Regions from separate parts of the Homo sapiens genome. Here regions 2, 3, 4 and 5 are each linked to region 1. Evidence: promoter capture Hi-C in 16 types of primary human blood cells and fetal thymus (Javierre and others, 2016). All regions are on one chromosome and are shown on one strand. The core of a region is centred on a gene start or on the middle of the fragment in contact, and the rest is flanking DNA. Distances in the headings are between cores, read along the strand shown.

Evidence for each region. The method cuts DNA at HindIII sites, captures the fragments that hold promoters and counts their contacts. A CHiCAGO score of 5 or more calls a contact.
Region 2: a fragment that was not itself captured here is called in contact with the fragment with the promoter of KIAA1586 in region 1 in 4 of 17 cell types (activated CD4 T cells, total CD8 T cells, total CD4 T cells and 1 more); the score reaches 7.2 in activated CD4 T cells.
Region 3: a fragment that was not itself captured here is called in contact with the fragment with the promoter of KIAA1586 in region 1 in 2 of 17 cell types (total CD4 T cells and activated CD4 T cells); the score reaches 5.5 in total CD4 T cells.
Region 4: a fragment that was not itself captured here is called in contact with the fragment with the promoter of KIAA1586 in region 1 in 1 of 17 cell types (non-activated CD4 T cells); the score reaches 6.0 in non-activated CD4 T cells.
Region 5: a contact is called between a fragment that was not itself captured here and the fragment with the promoter of KIAA1586 in region 1, in 3 of 17 cell types (activated CD4 T cells, total CD4 T cells and non-activated CD4 T cells). The highest score is 7.2, in activated CD4 T cells.

What each region holds. Positions count from the first base shown.
Region 1 is chr6:57,045,377-57,048,076 of GRCh38, forward strand. KIAA1586 reads left to right here and starts at 1,317. Exons shown (of 4, transcript NM_020931.4): 1 at 1,317-1,400; 2 at 1,937-2,020. The coding sequence starts at 1,380. RefSeq lists a silencer at 75-369 and enhancers at 999-1,088, 1,905-2,700. The HindIII fragment of the contact is 6,924 bases long and covers 799-2,700 here.
Region 2 is chr6:57,346,392-57,349,091 of GRCh38, forward strand. The region is part of intron 5 of PRIM2 (DNA primase subunit 2); the gene reads left to right. Among named protein-coding and RNA genes, the nearest start is that of PRIM2, 30 kb to the left of the region's middle. RefSeq lists an enhancer at 564-1,064. The HindIII fragment of the contact is 8,245 bases long and covers 1-2,700 here.
Region 3 is chr6:57,367,443-57,370,142 of GRCh38, forward strand. The region is part of intron 5 of PRIM2 (DNA primase subunit 2); the gene reads left to right. Among named protein-coding and RNA genes, the nearest start is that of MIR548U, 21 kb to the right of the region's middle. The HindIII fragment of the contact is 525 bases long and covers 1,042-1,566 here.
Region 4 is chr6:57,419,691-57,422,390 of GRCh38, forward strand. The region is part of intron 7 of PRIM2 (DNA primase subunit 2); the gene reads left to right. Among named protein-coding and RNA genes, the nearest start is that of MIR548U, 31 kb to the left of the region's middle. The HindIII fragment of the contact is 1,528 bases long and covers 508-2,035 here.
Region 5 is chr6:57,386,021-57,388,720 of GRCh38, forward strand. All of the region lies in intron 7 of PRIM2 (DNA primase subunit 2), which reads left to right. Among named protein-coding and RNA genes, the nearest start is that of MIR548U, 2.8 kb to the right of the region's middle. The HindIII fragment of the contact is 913 bases long and covers 933-1,845 here.

The DNA of each region.
Region 1 (2,700 bases), core at 67-2,566:
AGACAAATGGAACAGAATACAGTACCCAGAAATAAATCCACACACTTAGGGCATGGCTACACGGAGGAAGGGGTTTCTGAGCACAATACTCTGTGTGTGTTAACTTTGTAGTTTTGAAGTTAACAAGACCCTGGGCTCGCTATGCAGTCCGTATGTGATGTTGAACCCTTTACACACAGCACTAGACGGTTTTGAACCTATCAAAACACTGCTTCACTTAAATTTCACCAACTCCTTAAAATCCTAGTAAGTCTATGTTTTCCTTTGTTCCTATGTTCTCCTTTTCTCCCACTTTGTGGGTTGTCTGTTTACTCTGCTGATTATTTTTTTTGCTGTGCAGAAGCTTTTTAGTTTAATTAAGTTCAGTCTATTTATCTTTGTTTCTGTTGCATTTGCTTTTGGGTTCTTCATCGCGAAGTCTTTGCCTAAGCCAATGTCTAGAAGGTATTTTTCCGGTGTTATCTTGAGCAATTTTTATGACTTCGGGTCTTAGATTTAAGTCTTTGATGCATCTTGAGTTGATTTTTGTATAAGGTGAGAGATGAGGATCCAGTTTAATTCTTCTACATGTGGGTCACCAATTATCCCAGCACCATTTGTTGAAAAGGGTGTCCTTTCCCCACTTTATGTTTTTGTTTGCTTTGCTGAAGATCAGTTGGCTAATCAGATACCTCATAGCTCCTTTGTTGTATAATTTTGTGCATTGTAGATCAGGGTCAAAATGATAAAGGTGATTTTCTGGGACTACAGACTTGTCAATAACAGGTGGTCCTAGGCTGATAGAGGTAAACAAATAAAAGCTTTAAAAGAATATTCTCTGTTAAAATTTGCTTTCATAAATTTCATGTTTAAAATCATTTGTGAATAAATGTTAAAATAAAAAGGTGAGCCACGATTTTGGTAAGGCAATTTCTGAGCAAATCACACACAATTTTTTTTCATTCCCATTGATCTATTACATAGACGAATATTTGGTTGTGAAAAAGTGAGAGAAAGAACTCGGCTATTTTATTATAGTAGAGCAACACCGAAGGGAGACGACTTCGCTGTAGCTCAGAGTCTTTTTCCATTCTTCACCCACGCGCGGGGCAGTCGCGCGGCGCGGTCGCGCGGCGGGTAGGAACTACCATCCCAGCATCCTCTGCGGCGCGGGGAAGGAAGCCCGGGAATGAGAGAAAGAGGCTCCGGGGAGATAGCGGACCAGTGAGGGCTGCCCCTCTTTTGAAGCGGTTTTCGTCTCTTTCCGCCAGTGGCCTCCCAGCTCACGCAGGGGCGGGTCCCGGTAGCGCGAGGCGGTGCAGGGCGGGAAGGGGAGTGGTGGCGGCTGCGGCAGTAGGGACAGCAGGAGCAGTGGTGCTGTCAGCGCGGCCGTCGGAGACATGGGAGACCCGGGGTCGGAAGTGAGTAGTCGAGTGAGGGTCCTGGCGTTCTCAGAGGCGAACCGCGAAGGGTTTGTGTTTTCTGCGGTCTGAGGCCTGGTGCTCCGTCGCAGCCTCGGGGCGATACCTCTTCAGTGTCTTGGGCCGAGCCCAGCTCTGGGGCCTGGTGCGTGTCTGAGCGAGGAACCCGCAGCAACAATGGCCGCCCGGCCCCCCGCACGGGCCCTGGCGTTCGTTGTGGCCGCGGCTGGGCCAGTGGGAGCGACGTTTTAAGGCAGGATTGCCCTTCGGTGTTGAGCTTGCGTTCCTCCTGGAGTAGATAAGGGGAATTGTGAGAGGCTGGTAACTAACGCGTTTTCAGCGTTGGGTCCCTGCAGCTCCGCACACTCTGTGGCAAGAGCCAGAGCTCGAGTTCCGTTCCTAGTCGGGTTTCCGTGAAATTGTGCTCAGTTCGTTTTCCTCAAGAGCTCTCTGTCTTTAATTGTTCCTTTCGGAAACGCTCTCTTCCTACACGAATGTGGCTGAACAGATAAGCATGTTTTGGCTTGTTTTTATAGATAATAGAATCTGTCCCTCCAGCTGGCCCTGAGGCATCTGAGTCAACAACGGATGAAAATGAAGACGACATTCAGTTTGTCAGTGTAAGTAGCAATGATGATTGGGGTTTTCCCAGAGTAAAAGACTATGGTGGGCCATTATGTAATGTTACCTCACCTGGTCATTTAATGTTCATGAGTGTCTAATACATACTAGACACTGGAGCATGGCGCAGGATTGGGAAATTTACCAAAAGAGCTATCTGAGCCACCCCCGTAGCCATCACAAAGAGCACGTCCTAAAGAACGTGCTGTACACTTAATCTCGCCCCCTGCCTTTCATTTAAACTTAAGATAAAAACGCTGGTGTCTAAAACGCTGTTTTGAAATGGAGCAAGAGTAACTTCTAAAGGCGACACGGAGGAAGGAGCTGCTAATGATGAGCAAGGACGTAGAAAACAGGAAGGGTTGTGAGAGCCCAGAATCTTAGCGTTATGGTGCTTCTAACATGAAGGCAAATAGCTTGAAGATTTCTCTAACCTCTGAGATCATCATGTTACGGCATAGTACAGTTGATGCTCATAATGAAGAATCCTACATCACTGGGAACATGCTCTATTTTTCTGAGTTTGTTCCCTTTGAGACAGTAGTTTTCAAGCCTTAGTAAGTATAAACAGGCAGATTCCTGGGCCCCACTGCAGACCTACCGAATCAGAATTTCCAGGCGGGGGCCTAGGAATCTTCATTTTCAGACAAGTGCAGGGACATAAGGATTTCTGAGCACA
Region 2 (2,700 bases), core at 68-2,567, 300 kb after region 1:
CTGCAACCTCCTCCGCCTCCTGGGTTCAAATGATTCTCCTGCCCCAGCCTCCCGAGTAGCTGGGATTACAGTCGCCCACCACCATGCCTGGCTAATTTTTGTATTTTTGGTAGAGACGGGGTTTCACTATATTGGTCAGGCTGGTCTTGAACTCCTGACCTTGTGACCCGCCTACCTCGGCCTCCCAAAGTGTTGGGATTACAGGCGTGAGTCACCACGCCCAGCCATGTATACATTTTTAAAAATTCCATAATCTTTATAATCTTTCCCTCTTTCCTCCAAGTTCCCTGAAAAGTTAATTCTTTTTGGCTGAAGTCTTGTGTCATGGTCTAGTTCAGAGTCTAGGTCAGATTGCCTTATCCTAGGTCTTTTGGATGAGAATAAGAACCAGGGATGTGGAGGGCAAATGGAGTTGTAAAGGTAATCATTTTGTGTTCTCAGTCTTTGAGTGGCTTAATCTGAGTTACAAAGGGAGGAGGAAGTAGTTGCGTAACAAATCCATTTGGTCCAGGCCCTGTGAATATATCCATTCTGCTACTCCCCACCCCTCTGAAGGCATACAAAGGACAACAGCACAGTTAATACCCCTATTCTGGACTTGTCTCCATTTATTCTCTGCTTGCTTCTGTTTGTTTATCTCCATGACTTTCAAATACCTTGTGCTGTACTTCGGCTATTGATACCTGCCTCCTGTCTGGCTTTGTTTCCTGTTCATCTCTGGTCAAAGTGTGCTCTCCCCATTCCAGGAGAATCCTTCTGTTATCTTGGAGCTTAATAGCCAAATATATTCCAATTCCCTTTAGTTGGTCCAAGGAATAAGGCTTCTGTATGAATATTGGAAAACCCAGAGGACTGTTTCCAGACTTGGATGGGGTCCTTGTTTTCTAAAGGAGGAATATTTATTGATGACTGTATAAGTAGTGGACTTATTAAGGTTTAGATTTATCTGGTGATATAAGGAGACTGAGGAGAGATTATCACTAATAGCTAACATTTGTAATGTGTTTGTTAAGTGCCAGGCACTTTGGTAAATACTTCACATGGGTAAAAAAATTTAACTTCTTCTTCTGTGGTAGAGACAGTTTTGCTCTGTCGCCTAGGCTGGAGTGCAGTGGTGTGATCACAGCTCACTGCAGCCTTGAACTCTTGGGCTGAAGTGATCCTCCCACCTCAGCCTCCCAAGTAGCTGGGAATACAGGCGCATGCCACCCTGCCTGGCTAATTTTTTCTTTTATAGAAATAAGTTCTTACTGTGTTGCCTAGGCTGGTCTTGAACTTCAGGCCTTAAGTGATCCTTGCAACTTGGCCTCCCATAGTGCTGGAATTACAGGTGTGAGTCACTGTGACCAGCCAGGTTTATGTAATTTAATCCTCACAACAGCTCCATGAGGAAACTGAAGCTCAGACAGGTTAAGTAACTTTCCTTAAAATTAGTCTTCTAAATATTTAGAGATGTATAAGTCACAAAGCATGTTACTAAATATATGAGTAGATTTCTTCACAGCTTAACTATTGAAATGAAGTGGAATAGATGCTGACATTTAAGGTGACAGGGCCCATCAAAAGTGCTATACAAACACAGGTGTGAGTTTAGAGATTTACATTAGTTTCGGAAATTAAAGCATTAACTATAATTTTACTGAGATGTTTCATTTTAGCTGACAGTTGTTGGCAGGAATGGAAACCAAATATATTAAATATACCATTGGTAGCTTTCTCGGTATAATATTGCCATCTCTAGGGAAAACATTATATTCATCCAACTTAGTCGTTGAGGGGTTTGTTTTCTAGCCCGTAGTTTTTCTATGCCCTTTTTGTTTTTCTTCTCTGCTACCTTTTGTTTATCTTTTTAAAAACATTTTTCAGATCACATTGTATATTTTAGTTCATGTTCAACAATTAACTCATGTATAATATTCAAAGATCAGTGTAAATCAAAATCCAGGCAGTAGGTAAAAAATATATTTTTAAAATTTTAAATTAAGTTTTATCAGGCAGTAGATTTTGTACTTGAAGTGGGAGTCATTATTTTAATAGGCCAGGAAAAGAAAAGTTATGGACTTGAGTTGGTTTTTTTTACTATCTCACAAGAGAGATGCCATAGAGGAAAGCCTACTGTTTCAAACTGAGCCTTTCACAAGGATGGCTTGTTGGTTCAGTCCAGTAGTTCTGGACTATAGGGGTTATAGTCACCCCTGCTGGATATTTTGGCCATCTTTATGGTATTTTTGGTGTTTGTAAAAATGATTGGCAAGTCCAACAGGTGTTTAGTAGACAGGAGATGGGGATGCTGGTGCATTTACAGTGCACTGAGTAGTTCTGTACAACCACAGATTTTCCCACATCCTTCCTGCCCTTTTTTTTTTTTTTTTTTTTTGAGACAGAGTCTCTCTGTTGCCAAGCTGAAGTGCAGTGGCGCGATCTCGGCTCACTGCAACCTCTGCCTCCCGGGTTCAAGCTATTATCTGCCTCAGTCTCCCAAGTAGCTGGGACTATAGGTGTGTGCCACCCCGACCAGCTAATTTTTGTATTTTTAGTAGAGACGGGTTTTCACCATTTTCGTCAGGATGGTCTTGATCTCTTGACCTGGTGATCTGCCTGCTTCGGCCTTCCAAAGTGCTGGGATTACAGACGTGAGACACCATGCCTGGCCTCCTTTTTGACTTTTTATATTCATGTGAACAACAACAGAAACCCAGA
Region 3 (2,700 bases), core at 54-2,553, 320 kb after region 1:
GGGTTATTTATCACTGTGTCAGAAATACCTCCAAACCTAAAACAACAATTCCAAAACCTAACATTAAAACTTAAAATCAAAACTTAATTCTAAAACTTAAAACAGTACCCATCTTATTATATCTCACACTTTCGAGGGTTAGGGATTCAGAATGGGCTTACAGGGCAATTGTTCTGTTCCACATAGTATTATATATGGGCTTTCTTAGTTGACAACTAGTCTGGTCTAGGATGTCTAAGACAGCTTTACTCACATGCTTGTGCATATGTGAGGACTTCTAAAAGGCTGGACTCTGCTGGACGCCTTTCCATGTGATCCCTCAAACGAGGTGGTTGGACTTCTTACTTCATGATCTAGGACTCCAAGTGAACAAGGCAGAATCTGCCAGTCCTCTCAAAAAATAGGCCTGGGCCTGGCAGGGCATCACTCGTTCCTGTCAAAGTAGTCACAGGCCAGGCCAGATTCAAGGGGAGGGCAAATAGATCTTAGCTCTCAACGGAGGATGTGTCAAAGACTTTGCAGCCATCTTTAATCCCCATGTACTCCAGATTGATGATTACATCACAGTGCATTTGGGAAACAAATTGCCCTTTATAATCACAGTATTTGCTACCAATATAGAACCTATATTTATTTGAAATGATAATAACAGTATTAAAAATTATGATATTTGCTTTCAGCATTTGATCTATTCACAGTTTTAATTTCTTTATAAATGAAATGATTCCTAATTGTTTTATATATATCATATATATATCATACATTTATTTTAGAAAAGCGGATTCTTTTCCTGGGATATGCTGTTTAGACCAGTGATGTATGTCGAACCACTAATGGACCTTAAAAAAAAACATACAGCTCAGGGCTTCAGTCTGTAGGTCTGGGTGGCACCAGGAATCTGTAATTTTAAAAAGCTTCACTGGCAAGTAATGTACATACTTACTTAATGACCAGGGTCTAAGAAAGCTCTGTAGATTCAAATAGAAACTATCCAAACTATTTATAAATGTGATTGAGTATTGTTGATTGGAAGCTTATAGAAGCTTAAATCTCTGGGAAGCCTTATTTATATCTTTACTTTTGATGCCAGTGTACTAGACTAGTGGTTCCAACATGGCATCCCCAAGATGATCATTTGGGAATGTGGGAAAGAAATAAATAATACAACATATATTTTTAGTCTCATCCGTTCCACATTTTGGGGATGGGTATGGCATGTTTTAAGTGCAGAATGTACAGTAATACATACATATAATTTATAAATAAATATACATATATTGGAAGTATGTGCTGAAAAAACTTCATTGATGACAATGTGTGATGCAAAGATGAAGGTCACTGTTCCAGTCAGTTTAGTTTATGCATTGGTAACGACCCCCAAACCTCAGTGACTTATAGAAAGGTTTGTTCCTTGTTCATATTCTGTGTCTTCATGGGCCAGCTACAACCCTGCTGTGTGTCATTTTGTCCCTGGACTCAGGCAGATCGAGTAGGCTCTGTATACCGGAACTTCACCAGTTGCTGCGGCAAAAGGAGGAGAGAACTGGGTAAAATACATGCTCAGAAAGCTTTTGCTTAGGAATAACACACGTCACTTCCACTCACATTTCACTGGCCAAAGCAAGTCACTTGGCTACACTTTAGTTCAGCAGGTAGGGGGTGTATAATTCTCCCTCAGTGAGGGACTCAGTACAGGGTGAATAGCGATACAGTCTACACAGACATCCACTACCCTTCTATTTACTGTGTAGAGTATTTGCCTCTCTAGAGCTGCTCCTTAATCTGCTTTCAGGATTTCAACAGAGTGAAATTGCCTCTCTCAGTTCCTGGTTTGATGAAGAATATAAAAAAGAAAAAGACACACAGCCAAAATCCTTAATTCTGTTAGCAAGGCAGCATATAAAACAACATAATTTTGGAATATGGAAATATAACTTTGCCAAAACAGTTAAAACCCAGTGTAATTTTTACTTGATAAAAAACTATACCGTTATACCATGTGCTACCATTTGAAACATTCAGGTACTGACTGTTGAGTGGGTGGATATGAATAATAGGGATTGAGATGTGGGGAATTATGAGTAGTAGTGGCAAGAGCAGAACTTCAAAGCTAGAATGTTCAGAGTCTCTGTTGATTGGACATTAATCAGAGTGAAGGTTGAGCATCTCTAAAATAGTAATGTAAGTCACTCAAAAAATGTGTGTTTCATGTTGAGCCATTTGTTTATACACCTCTTTTTAGGAGGATGTTTACTTTGTGAAGCATACTACACCTTGATTATAAGATGTTGCAGTGATAACCTAGCTGGCTTTTATCAGTTATTTTGAATTCCCCTATACACCAAGACCTGTGTTAGTTTAATGAAATGACAAGTTTATAGAAACTGCATTAGTTGCAGTAAACATTTCACTTTATTACTTGAGGAAAAAGCCTGAAATACAGAAACTAATCAAAATGTAAATTACAGGTAGTAACAACAAGTGTTTACCATGTACTAAGGGTGTGCTGTATGTTAGGCCTATTGTACACACTTTACATACTTTATTTAATCCCAAGAAAAGCTACATGAGATAGGTATGATTTTCTTCATTTTATCCCTGAAGAAACTAAGGTGTAAAGAGGTTAACTAACCTGTTTAAGATTCAAAGACAGGTTTCTATGATTTTGAAAACTATTCTCTCTACTACTTTACTCTGCTT
Region 4 (2,700 bases), core at 22-2,521, 370 kb after region 1:
CAGGAGGGAGGGGTAGTATGTAGTAGTGGTTGCATTCATATTTAACCCTCGGTTTTTGAATAAAGTCTTACATTTGGGAATTTTTTTTTAATAAATAAAATGTCTTGCTAATGTAAGTGTTACTCCCACCAATATAGAAGACAGCACTCAAATTCTCATTCTCTTTTGTAACCAGATCATAAGCATATGACTTATACTTCGTTGATTAGACTCACCTCTCACAGGACTTTGATTTGGAACTGAGGAAACAGAACAGGACTTTGATTTGGAACTGAGGAAACAGAATCTTCATCGAGCTTTTGTGTTTGGTGGTGGCAGTGGTGGATGTGAGCAGAGACTTTCTGCCTTTGGTGGCAGCAGTGTCTTTTTGGTGGTTGCTAGATTGATTTCCCACAGTGGGAGTGGTTTTCTTTAGTACTCTGTGGGATGCTAAACAGCAGTGATGGCCATTTTCTATTAATAATTAGTCCTGTTTTAGAACTAATTAGTTCCTCTTTTGAGCCTGGAAGCTTAACTTTAAGAATAGTTTTTTGGCCAGGCACAGTGGCTCGTGCCTGTAATCTCAGCACTTTGGGAGGCCAAGGCGGGTAGATCACGAGGTCAGGGGTTCAAGACCAATGTGACCAACGTGGTGAAACCCTGTCTCTACTAAAAATACAAAAATTAGCTGGGTGTGGTGGCGTGCACCTGTAATCCCAGCTACTCAGGAGGCTGAGGCAGGAGAATCCCTTGAACCCAGAAGGCGGAGGTTGCGGTGAGCTGAGATTGCACCATTGCACTCCAGCCTGGGTGACAGAGGGAGACTCCATCTCAAAAAAAAAGAATAATATTTCATCTTCCCAACAATTCTGTGAGCTTCCTAGTAGCCTTTTAATAAACTCATTTTCTGCTAGTCAGCTTCTTCCATGTTCAGCTAACAATCTTAGCTGGTCCTGGGTTGATTAGAAGATAAGGCAGCAAAATGAAGACAGAGGCTTTTTGATATCTGCCAGGATGGCTAAGAATTGATCCAAAATCCATGGGGACTTGGTATCAGATTGTATTTTGGGGTGAATTGGAGGAGGAAGGAAAATAACTATGTTGATAGTAGGTCTGTTTGGATGTTGGAGGGTATGGAACAATGATTTTAGTTTTGGACATGTTTACTTTGAGATGCCATAGAAATATTCACTTGTGGAGATATCTGGCATGTAATTGGAAATGTAATTCTAGCATTCAGAAAAGAGATCAGGGATAGTAGTGACAGTTATTCAAGGTTGCATTGAAATTGGATTAGAGTACTAAGGGTAGCAGCATGAAATGGGGAGAAAGGAGAGGCTTTTCACAATTACAGGGCAGATGGTGGAAGGAGACAGTGAAGAAATCTGAAAACGAATCTTCTAGAAGGATGGAAGAGCACTCAGAGAAGCTCAAAGATGGTAGACCAAGGAGCAGATAGTCAGGAGTATGAAGACTGAGAAGAGGCCATTGTATTTAGTGATTTTCAAGAAAGTCATAGAAAATAGAACAAAACCTTACAGTGGTGAATAAAGGACTAAAGTAATATCTGGAACAAAAGAGATTAAATAAAATTTGAGTCAAAAATTTTATTAGACATATTTAGAGCCCAAATCACAAAATAAAGTTTGAAACCAGAGACACAACCCCTATCTTTTTCCTTAACAGATTTTTATCAGGCTAGTTGTTAAGTTTGTCTATTTGAGTAATGGCACTGATATATCAAATTCTTTTGTTTTAATGAAGCAACAGCTCTCTAGTATGCAAAACTTGGGAAAATATTTTGCTTTACAATTTTAGTGTTCATTAAGCCTTATTATGTAAGCTGTAAGCAAATGTTAGAGAATTTTAAATGTTTGTGACATCTGTGTTTTTATTGTGAATGTGAGTTTTCTTTTGTAAGTATTACAATGATCATTGTTAACAGTTTGACCTTGCTTTACATTTTTGCCAGACTATTCAGTGATAGCTATTTGCATGCTGTCTTTCCTTTTATTTCAGCTTTCCATCCCACTTCCTCTTATGTTGCCAAATGAGAAGCTTGACTATTGGTGGTTAGAGTCTCTGCCACTCAAGATTTTCATTTTTCTGTATTTTGAAGTACTGTCTTTGTATGCTTTTCTTTTCTCCATTCAAAGAGCAGTCTCTTTACATTTGATATTCTGATAGAATTTATCTGCTGAAAATCAAAGTCTGTGCTCCTTGAATTCTGGCTTCAAAATAATCATCTAGAATAGATGTAAGATACTAGAACCAGATGAAAGATTCAAAAGATGTCAGTCTTAATTTATAAGTTTATTATCTACAAGACTGGATCTTGACTGTACCAGTCTTAAAAATATATCTTGCATTATAATTTGAGCTATGACATTTCATCAAACGTACAGTTTAAATTTATAGAACTCTTTTTTTTGCATTAATTTATGTAGTCAAATAGAAGACATTAAATTCAAAAGTATTTCTTTTCTTTCTTTTTTTTTTTTTTGAGATGGAGTCTCTCTCAGTCGCCCAGGCTGGAATGCAATGGTGTGATCTCGGCTCACTGCAACCTCTGCCTCCTGGATCAAGTAATTCTCCCACCTCAGCCTCCCAAGTAGCTGGGATTACAGGCACCCACTTTTTGTATTTTTGTAGAGACAAAGTTTCACCATGTTGGCCGGGCTGGTCTTGAACTCCTGACCTCAGGTGATCCTCCCGCCTTGG
Region 5 (2,700 bases), core at 139-2,638, 340 kb after region 1:
GTTTAGGAATGGAATTGTAGGGTATTGAGTATATCTGTGTACAGCTTTAATGGATTTAGATTTACTTTAAATGGATTTATTCTGGCTGAGTGGGGTGGCTCACACCTGTAACCCTCGTCCTTTGGGAGGAGGAGGTGGGAGGATTGCTTGAGCTCAGGAGTTTGAGACCAGCCTGGGCAACATAGTGAGAATCAGTCTCTACTAAAAACAACAACAACAACAACAGCAACAACAACAACAACAACAAAATAGCCAGTCGTGGTGGCATGTGCCCGTAGTCCCAGCTACTTGGGAGGCTGGGGTGGGGGGATCACTTGAGCCTGGGAGATCAAGGCTGCAATGAGCTATAATCATGCCATTGCACCCCAGCTTGGGCGACAGAGTGATACCCTGTCTCAAAAAAAAAAAAAAAAAAAAAAGAACGAAAGAAAGAAAGAAAGAAAAGGATTTGTCCTGATTACAGGTGGGTTGTGGAGAGTTCTGGCCTTGGTGTCTTGGATTTAATAGAAGACAGACAGTGACTTGCTTTCTCCTGGGTGGTTCAGGGCCGAGCCTGGTTGAGAGGAGGTCCAGAGAACACTTTTTCTTATGTAGGAGAGTGGTGGGAGTTGTTGCCTGGGAGCCTGTCCTGACAGCTGTGGAAAGGAGCAGGAGGGAAGCGAAGGAGTTCATTTAGGGCTGTGGCGAAGTAGAAATCTAAACCTATTGCTATGGTCTCTTTATTACTGTCCTTTCCATTGAGGAAGGTTTTGACCTTGGAGTATGTAATTGAAAACTTTCAGCTTTATAAATGGAAATATTCTTGTAGGATAAGAAAAAGTACCCTAAAGTAGATTTTTTGAAAGGTATTTTGATGAGTGGTAGAGGATGAAATAAATGGTTCTGGGGGAAGTTGTAAATTGATGAGAGTTTTACCCCAGGTGACAACTGAAAGCTTATTCTTAACCTGTGACCATATGACTTTTATAATATGACTATCTAGCTTTTGAACATGGTTTAGGACTGATAAAAAATTGACATTACTTTTTCCTTTGATAGGAACTCTGTGGCCCAGAACCTTCCCTTTAAGTCCCAAGATTGTGCTAAGTATATCTCCTTTGTGTTCCCACAGCATTCTGCACACGACCAAATTACGGTGAAATTATTCTCATTATGTGTTTTCCTCCTCAATTAAAATGTAAGTTCTTTGAGAGTGAGGAATTTCTCTTAATTCAAATTTTTATCTGGTATAGCATGTGGCACATAGGGTTAGTGGTCAGTAAAATTTTATTGAACTGACAGATACCAAATAATGATATAAACTTGCTTTTGTTCACAGTTTACTGTTTATACATACTGTTAATCCCACTATAAGTCACTGAGAGAGAAAGGGGTTATAATGTGCATTATATGGATGAGGAAAATGCAGCACAGAGAGGCCAAAGTAATTTGTCTAAGATTATGTTGGCTAATAATTGCTGGAGCCCTGACTTGATCTCAGGTTTTCTGATTGTAATTCTTAGGGTCTTTTGATGGTAACTGTGCCTTTGTCAGGAGTTGTATAACCAGGTGATTTAGGTCTTCAAACTCTGATAAAATATTCAAAGGTAAGTATATTAAGGTCCAGTCACAGAGCAGGCCCAAGGGGTGAATTTGGAGCTACGGTAGAATAGATTGATAACCAGTTAGGGAAAAGAATGAGGGAAAGATAGATTTTTTTTGCTTCATATGGCAATTTTAGAAGCTATAGCCAGTTCTTTTATTTAATGGTTTATTTTTAAATAACTTTTTATTTGTTCATCCATGCATAGGTTTGGGTACTAGAGATACTACTTAACAAATTAGATGAGATTTCTTCTCTTACAAAGCTTATATTCTAGTGGGAGACAGACAATTACTGAAGAAATAAACAATAACAATATTGTAAATGACATGAAGGAGCCAGCTGAACAAATATAGAGGAAACTGCATTCCAGGCAGGAAAAGTCACTAATGCAAAGGCCCCCAAAGGGAGGAATCTTGGCCTTTTTTTTTAGAATCAAAAAGGCCAGTGTAGCTAGAGCATAGTGAGCTACGGTAGAGTGCTACCATGTGAGGCTGCAATGGCTAGGTGTAGACTCTGTGAGACTTTGAGGTAGAGTCCCAGGGTAAAGAGTTTGATTTTTTTTTAGCCTAATGTAGTTGAAAGACATTGGATGATTTTGAATAAGTGAGTGATATGATCTGATTTATGTTTTAAATAGATGACTGTGGCTGCTGCTTGAAAGCCATTTTGGAGGATAAAAAAGGAATGGAAGCGGGAGGACTAGTCTGGAAGTTTTCACATTAATCTAGATAGTGGCTTGAAATGGATTGGTTGTGGTGATATGACTGACAGAAGTCAGTGGATTTCAGTTAGTTTTTAAAGTAATATTGACATGGTGGATTGGTTGTGAGAGAAAGAGAAGAATCAGCATAATGATGATGATGATGAGAGCTTAAGCATAGTGAAAATTTAATATTTGCCAAGTGCTATTCTAAATGCTTTATATGAATTAATGCATTTAGTCTTTATGGTAACCCTATAAGGCAGGTACCATTATCACTCTCTGAGGCTTGTAGTATCTTTATACAGGTAGTGAGGAGCAGAAGCAGGATTTGAATCCATACAGTCTGGCATCAAGGTCTATGTTCTTGACCATTATATTACACTGCCTAGAATTTTGGCTTGAATAATTTATT